Linked DNA regions of Homo sapiens: region 2 is linked to region 1. The links are contacts of gene promoters, found by promoter capture Hi-C in human tissues and cell types (Jung and others, 2019). All regions are on one chromosome and are shown on one strand. Each heading gives the region's core, a stretch centred on a gene start or on the middle of the fragment in contact. The rest is flanking DNA. Distances are from core to core; before and after follow the strand shown.

Region 1 (4,171 bases), core at 785-3,284:
GGGAGGCCTGGTGGAGAGGGTAGCAAACCGAGAGAGCGCACCGGGGTGGTGGGGGGAGAAGCTGGACTGTAAGGTGAAGAGTTAGTAGGGCGCAACCGTCTTCTCCTGCCCTCGAAGGGCAAGACTGAAGAAAGTAGGGGCGGAGGAGGCCGGGCCCTCCACTAAAGGGAGGGAAGCTAGTGAAGCGTCAGTTATAATAGAAATAGGAATTCAGTAAGGAAATGGAGAAGCTTAAGGCAAAGGGTGACTCTCCGGCCTGACCCTCACTATGAAGATATTTATGTATGTTCCCATAATACTTTTCAGATCCCAATGTCTGTGTTTATCCTTGACAGAAATAATAGAACTGCTGTCTTCTTCCAAGTTAAACAAAACTTTGGAGCTAAAAGCTAGCTAGGTCAAGAGAAACAAAATCTAATCCTCACCCAATTGAGAGACTGAATATACAAAGAATGGCCAAACCTAACCATGACCTCCTACCCATAACCTCTTCAGTAATCGGCCAGAAGGGTCAGGACTTAATCTTTAACCGGCAGCTTCCCTATTTCTTGCCCCTGCTTCCAGCTCTGGGCCAATCAGAGAAAGCCAAATGTGCTCCTCACACCAATCGCGTAAGAAGCCCTGCTTCTAGTATAGCCCTCCTCCAACTTCCCGATGCCAACATCCTCCAATCAGAGCCAACCTGAAGTTTCTCCCTTTTTTCAGTATATGTAAAGCTTTTCCACTCCCCTGCCTGCCTATGAGTCTGTTAAATCAAGTGATGGGTCGCGGCTGACTCTTGCCAGCTCTGAGTAAATAGCCTATTCTCATTTGGTGGTCGTTATTTCTACACAGCCGGTGGGAAGGTGGTGGAGAATAGTGAAGACTATTCTTAAGGTTAAAAAGAAGGTTCGGCTTACATTTTTTTTTTATTTTAAATTTACAGCATGGCGTCTCCAGCCCAGGTTTTAAAATACCTTCTAATGTAAGGAAATAGCCCTGCACCTTGTGCCCATCCTAGAGAGAAAATGGTTTCTTAATAAAAAATGTATGAGGCCTTTTTTGCCCCAATATCTTCCCAAGCAGAGGAATGTGAAGGGGGGTTGGGCCAAGAAGTGAGTGGTAGGAAGAGAGGCCTACGGATTTAAAACAGGCCACTGCTTGGAGGGGTGTCTTTCCTAAACCACTGAAGAAATTGAACCAGGCAAAGGAAGGGGGTTCACACCCACAAATAAACTATAACCTACAAAAGGAGCCCGGGTTCACATCCACAAATAAATTGTAACCTACACAAGGAGTCTGGTTGAGGTCACAAAACAAAAGCCAGGAGGCAACCAAAAGTAGAATATGAAATAGGTGCTGCCTTCTCACCTAGGAATCCTTCCAGGGCTAAAACCTTCAAATATTCTGCTTTTAAGGTAGTCAGATACCCTCACAACTCATTTACATCAGCCCTTCTCTGTTTTCAAGTGAGAAGCATAGATGGTTTAGAATTAAGCTATGAACTCTTGGATCTTTTCTTCCAAGTTTAGTGTTAGTGGTAGATAGGTCTAGTCCAACTATCTCAATACATTGTTTTCTCCCTAGTTAAAACAGATTTGCAAGAATCATTTGTATGACACTTTAGGAATACAGATAAATTGCTAGTGCAAATAATATCCTTATATTTATAAAATATATGTGTACTTTTAAAAAAGTTATATGAATCCAATCCTCTGGCCTTTTAGTTAGTATTGAGTGTGATAGTTGTGGGAGATCTGTAGTAAATACGGTTTCTGAAGGGTGTGCTATCATCCCTAATGAACTCACCTATTAATTGTGGTAAAGAGTTTTTCACTTGGGCTGGGCACGGTGGCTCACGCCTGTAATCCCAGCACTTTGGGAGGCCGAGGCAGGTGGGTCGACTGAGGTCAGGAGTTCCAGACCAGCCTAGCCAACATGGTGAAACCCCGTCTGTACTAAAAAAAAAAAAAAGAAAAAAAATAGCTGGGCATGGTGGCAGGTGCCTGTAATCCCAGCTACTTGGGAGGCTGAGGCAGGAGAATCCCTTGAACCTGGGGAGGCGGAGGTTGCAGTGAGCCAAGATCGTGCCATTGCACTCCAGCCTGGGCAACAAGAGCAAAACTCCGTCTCAAAAAAAAAAAAAAAAAGAAAAAGAAAAAGAAATGAAAAAAAAAGTTTCCCAACATGTATTAGCCGTTTTCATGTTGTCTGTATTCACCTTTGCGTCATCACCCCTCTTCAATTTCCTCCTGGAATTCAATCACAGTAATGGGTTATCTCAGCATATATTATTCGCCAGTCTCACATCCTGACCTCATTTATTTACCTAAAAATAACCAGAACGAAAAAAAAATCACAGATTAATTTACACTTGATTTCACTTTAACTTCAATTTAAAATACTTAGAATCCAGAATTCCTAGTAAGTTGAACCTGGAATACGCAGACCTGTGATAATATCTTAAACACTCAAATGTTTTCAACTTGCTGAAATGGAGTTCACACTTTTAACATTCTGGGCTTTTTTTTTAAAAGGGACTATAATACTTTAACTCAAATTACAATCAAATGTGTTCATTACCTATAAGAAAAAAATTTTACCTATCTCATATCTTCAGTGAAATGATTATATCACATCTGGCTAAGCTTTACCATTTGGTATTTGCCCTCTTTCAAGTGATTTGCAGTATAATACTTTGATTTCCCAAAATTTCAACATACAAAGTTATTTTCCAAATATGCTCAAGCAACATCTGATCATCACTAACAAGACTAAAGGCTAATATGCCCAAGGAGCCAAGTCCCGTTTTCTTGGGACTTCATAGCAGGTAAAAATTGCCTTTTCAATTTATACACCTGAAGAAAGTGAAGCAGCATCAGTCACTGAGGGCTTAGTAGAGATGTCCTCAGAGAGGTGCACATACTGCGCTGAAGTTGATGCATACTAAGCAGGCGTGCTTAATCACTGAGAGGTTACATCAGGCACATTTTGTTGGAATAAATGTTCCAACCCCTGAGTAAACTCAAATTGAAAAGTAGGAAAGTTGGCCAGCGCGGTGGCTCACACCTGTAATCCCAGCACTTTGGGAGGCCAAGGTGGGCGGATCACGTGAGGTCAGGAGTTCGAGACCAGCCTGGCCAACATGGTGAAACCCCATCTCTACTAAAAATACAAAAATTAGCCGGGTGTGGCAGCATGCACCTGTAATCCCAGCTACTTGGGAGGCTGTGGCGGAGAATTGCTTGAACCCAGGAGGCAGAGGTTGCAGTGAGCTGAGATTGCACCACTGCACTCCAACCTGGGTGACAGAGTAAGACTCTGTCTCAAAAAAAAAAAAAAAAAAAAAAGTGTAGGAAAGCAATAGTACAAACGAGGAGGGGAGTGGGTGAGTTAAACACATTTTCCCCAAACTGCCAGGTTTACTTTGCAGAATTTGTATTCTCTTTCACAGATAACATAACCCTCATTCCCAGCACACCACAACCAAGCTAGCTAGCTGGCTCAGCTCACGGTGTCCTTCGGCCACATCGGGACTCAGCATGGTATATGTTCTGGTCATCACCCAGAGAATTCTAGCTATTCATTTTGACTCTTCAGTTTCGCTAAGATGACTGCATGCCAGCAATTTTAACTTATTTATTAATTTGAAAATAATGTGTGGCTGGGCCGGGCACAGTGGCTCACGCCTGTAATCCCAGCACTTTGGGAGGCCGAGGCAGGCGGATCACGAGGTCAGGAGATCAAGACCAGCCTGACTAACATGGTGAAACCCTGTCCCTACTAAAAATACAAAAAATTAGCTGGGCGTGGTGGCATGCACCTGTAGTCCCAGCTACTAGGGAGGCTTAGGCAGGAGAATTGCTTGAACCCAGGAGGCAGAGGTCGCAGTGAGCCAAGATCACACCACTGCACTTCAGCCTGGGCAACAGAACGAGACTCCGTCTCAAAAAGAAAAAAAGAAAAGAAAAAAGAAAAAGAAAATATGTGTGGCTGGAAGACACTGAAATCTGGAAAACAGCTATTTAGGTATAAATTTACTTTGACTTACTGAGATCAAGAAAGAACTGACATCGTCCTCATCTAAGATACCTTGTTCTCCTTGGGTATTTTCCAAGTTAGTTCAGGGGCAGTTGCCGAGGAATAACACTGATGGGGGTTCACACTATGGCGATCTTGTTGAACTGCCTGA
Region 2 (4,171 bases), core at 1,031-3,530, 370 kb after region 1:
ATTATAGGGTGAGCCACTGCACCGCATCCTAGGTCAGACAACAGAGGACATGCCCACGGCATGACTCACAGTACTTCTGTCTGCAAGAGGCCAGTCAAAGTATATGTTATTAATAAAACCTACATGGTTGTCGTACCCATGGGGAAGGTGACAGGGGAGGAAAACAGATTGCTCTGAGCTGTGTCCAGGAACTGCTGCCAGGTGACTGTCTTGCATGGCTAGGTAAGTGGAATGAAGCTAGAGGAGATTACCAGGCCCAAACTGTCACCCATGAGACTACATTCATGGGGTTCCTATACTTCCCCTCCCACATCCTATTCTACTCCCCTTGAAGAACCTCTTTTAAAATGCAAATGTGTTGTTCACCCTGCTGCTGGGATGCCCTGCCTTTCCTTTCTCTGATTTATTTATTTATTGAGACAGGGTCTCTCTCTGTTGCCCAGGTTGGAGTGCAGTGGTGCAATCTTGGCTCACTGCAACCTCCGCCTCCCAGGTTCAAGCAATTCTCCTGCTTCAGTCTCCTGAGTAGCTGTGATTATGGGCATGTGCCACCATGCCCAGCTAATTTTTTGTGCTTTTGTTTTTATTTTTGAGACACGGTTTTGCTTTATCTCCCAGGCTAGAGTGCAGTGGCATGATCTCGGCTCACTGCAACCTCTACCTCCCAAGTTCAAGCAATTCTTGTGCCTCAGCCTTCTGAGTAGCTGGTACTACAGGCCCATGCCACCACGTCTGGTTGATTTTTTTTTTTTTTTTGATACAGAGTCTTGCTCTGTCTCCCAGGCTGGAATGCAGTGGCGTGATCTTGGCTCACGGCAACCTCCGCCTCCTGGATTCAAGCGATTCTCCTGCCTAAGCCTCCTGTGTAGCTGGGACTGCAGGCATGCACCACCCAGCCCGGCTAATTTTTGTATTTTTAGTAGAGATGAGGTTTCACCACGTTGCCTAGGTTGGTCGTGAACTTCTGAGCTCAGGCAATCCGCCTGCCTTGGCCTCCCAAAGTGCTAGGATTACAGGCATGAGCCACCATGCCTGGCCAATTTTTGTTATTTTTAGTAGAGACGGGGGTTTCACCATGTTGGCCATGGTGACGAGTTTGAGCTGGTCCCAAACTCCTGGCCTCAGGAGATCTGCCCTCACCCCCAGCCTTCCAAAGTGCTGAGATTACAGGTGTGAGCCACCGCGGCTGGTCCTCTGATTTATTTTTTCAGATCCAGTACAAATGTTACCTCCTCTGCACTCCCTTTTCCAGACTCTCCTAATGCCTTGCCTCTGCCACTGAAGTACATCATTTGTTTGTCTGTTTTTTATATTTTTATTTTCTATTTTCATTTTAAATAGAGACAGGGTCTCACTATGTCACCCAGGCTGGTCTCAAACTCCTGGTCTCAAGTGATCCTCCTGCCTCGGCCTTGAAGTACATCATTTGTAAATGTGGTAGTTGATTCCATTAAAGTGAGGTGCCTGCCTTGCTGTGGTTGGCAGCCCAGGGCCTAGTGCTGGACCTGGCTTGTGGGGGTGAGGTGCTCAGTGCTACCCAATACCACAGTACAACGAATGAACAAATGTCTAAATGAAACATCCACATTGTTTTCAGTAAGTCCTCTTCCCAGCCCTGCCCTGGAGAGCCTCTCTGTGGGTGCCCTAGTGCACAGCTCTGTTGTGTGAACATCGTACACTCATGCTTGCATACGAAGGCGTGCCCTGGCTGTGGGTGGTGGGTGGCTCCTCCTTCTGGGCTACGTGAGCCCAGGGTGTGGAAGTGTGTGGAAGTGTAGGGATAAGGGTGGGGGCTTTGGGAACTGGGAAGCCCCAGGGCTAGGCCATGAATGGGTGTCAGACCCGAAGAGCAGGTTGGGGTGCAAGTTGTCCTTCAGCCCCCATTCTTCCTTCTTTCTTAACCAAGGTTACCAGCAGCCACACACATAGGTCTGGGCTCTGAAGAGGACCGGATACATAAGGCAGAACCCAAGGAAGCCTTAGGCTCAGGTCTCTGCCTGAAGGTAGGCTGGGGAGGCGGAGAGGGACAGAGGGAAGAATCCCCTGGACACCGCGCCTCAGGGAGGCCCAGGGGTAAGGTAGGAAGACTCAGGCCCGGGATGTTGTTCTGGCTCATCCACTTCCTAACTGAATCAACCTGCACAAGTCATTTCACCCTTCTGAGCATCAGTTTCTTCATCTGTAAAATGGGCCTAACAAGCAGCCCAGCCTGGGAGGTGGTTAGTGAGGTCACTGGGTGTCACTGGCGCTTGGGAACCTGCAGAGGGCAGTACTAGCGGCAGTGCCCGCGGGGATGGAGGCAGGGAGGGGGGACGATGGCGGGACGGGTGGCGCCGGGGTTCCAGCCCTGCGCCTGCTCCGGAGCACCGGGCCCCTCTCGCTGACCCCCTCGTCCCAGGACCCCGCAGGCCCGAGTGCCTGGGCTCGTCCTCTTTCGCGCCCGCTGCCAGGTGCCAGGGCCGCGCAGGCGGGCGGAGGTGGGCAGGAAGCGCCACGCCGAGGAGCCGGGGACTCTGGGAGCTAGCGGGAGACGCCGGCGTCCGCCCAGCCGACCCCTCTGGGCCGCGGCCGACGGCTCCCGGAACTGGGCAGCCGCGGGTAAAGGCCTAGCGGGCTTGATAACCCCTGCGCCCTGGCTGGGAGGCCGCGCTGAGCGGGGGGCAGGGCGGGCCGGGGGAGGAGGCTGTGCAAGGGCCGCGGGGAGATCCCGGCCGAGAACGAGAGGGACGGAGCTGGGCGCTGAATGGCGGGCGTTCTGGCAAGTCTCCCCCTGCGTTCCCGAGGCCACCCGAAAGTAGGAGAGCTGTTTGGGACCCAGTTTGGTGGAGGAGCTCTGGACCTGTAGGAACACCGCCCCTGTACGTTTCCTGCAGTGCCCCCTCCTTTTCTCATTGCCCTGGAGACCTGGGTGATCACCGGAGAACTGCCCTCGGCCCCGCAAGTCCCGTCTTGACTCAGTGGCCCTAGATCCGAGGTTAAACCGGAACCTAGGCTTTCTCAGGCTTCTGGAGCCCTCTCTTAACCCTTCCGCAGCCCCTGGGACGGGCCAGCACCCAGCCAGCTCCTCCGCTGGTTGGCCCTGCTAAGGCAGGTGGCCCAATGCAGCCAGTTCTCCTTAAGCGTACCCTGCCCAAGAAGCCCCGATCTCAGTGGAGGAGACCAGGTGCCAAATAGGGGCACATTCCATTTAAGTGAGTTCAGAGGCCTCAGAAAAGACTTCCCAGGGACGGAGACTTTTGAGCAGGATCTTAAAAGATTGGTTGGGGCCCGAGTGGTGGCTCGCGCCTGCAGTCCCCGCACTTTGGGAGGGCAAGGCGGGCGGATCACTTGAGCCCAGGAGTTCGAGACCACCCTGGGCAACAATGGTGAAAACCCCGTCTCTACAAAAACCAAAGCCAAAAATTAGCCAGGTGTGGTGGCACACCACTTTAGTCCTAGCTACTCAGGAGGCTGAAGCAGGAGGATGGCTTGAGCCCAGGAGGTAGAGGTTGCTGTGAGCTGAGATCGTACTACTGCACTCCAGCCTGGGCAACAGAGCGAGAGACCCTGTCTCAGGAAAAAAAAAAAAAAAAAAAAAAAAAAAAAAAAAATTGGTTGGGACTCTAACAGAGGAAAAAGGTCATTCCAAACTGGGAAGAGTGTATGAACAAATTTAGGACAGCAAGAGCAAGAATCCGGTGAGCCTGGGGTATAAGGCACAGGCTGGGACAAACTCAGAAAAATAGCTTGTGGGAGCCCAGTGTTTGGACTCTATAAGTAACCTTGGACTTTTCGGGAGGTGCTTGGTGCTTGGGGTGAGGGATTAGAATGGGATGAGACTGAAGGCAGAAAGGCTGGTGAGGAGATCGGGTCCAATAAATGCTGGTCGGGGCAGCAACTGGCTGGCAAAGCAGTGGGGAGGAATTGCTAGGACTCTTCACACTGCCTAAAGGAGCAAGGGAAGAAAGATTTGAAGAGAGAGGTCAGGTTTCTAATGTAAGGCGTGGGTGGGAAGATTTGCAGCAAGGTAAATGACAAGAGGAGGGGAATGATGAGTTCAGTTTTACATGGGAGAAGTTTGAAGCAGTGGCAGGTTGTCCATCTGGAGATGTCAAGTGAGAAGTTCATTCATTTATTTATTATTTATGTCAGCCTCAAAGGCTGCTTACATAAAAGTCACAGAGAACATAAA

The links. The method cuts DNA at HindIII sites, captures the fragments that hold promoters and counts their contacts. A contact is called where the count stands out against the background at its distance.
Region 2: a contact is called between the fragment with the promoter of NLRX1 here and a fragment that was not itself captured in region 1, in 1 of the 25 tissues and cell types used here (mesenchymal stem cells).

The regions. Positions count from the first base shown.
Region 1 is chr11:118,792,329-118,796,499 of GRCh38, forward strand. No RefSeq gene overlaps it. Among named protein-coding and RNA genes, the nearest start is that of DDX6, 3.2 kb to the left of the region's middle. RefSeq lists enhancers at 1-223, 612-721. The HindIII fragment of the contact is 4,819 bases long and covers 1-4,171 here.
Region 2 is chr11:119,166,445-119,170,615 of GRCh38, forward strand. It overlaps NLRX1 (NLR family member X1), which reads left to right and starts at 2,281. Exons shown (of 10, transcript NM_001282144.2): 1 at 2,281-2,858. RefSeq lists a silencer at 2,190-2,799 and enhancers at 2,371-3,076, 3,077-3,781. The HindIII fragment of the contact is 23,273 bases long and covers 1-4,171 here.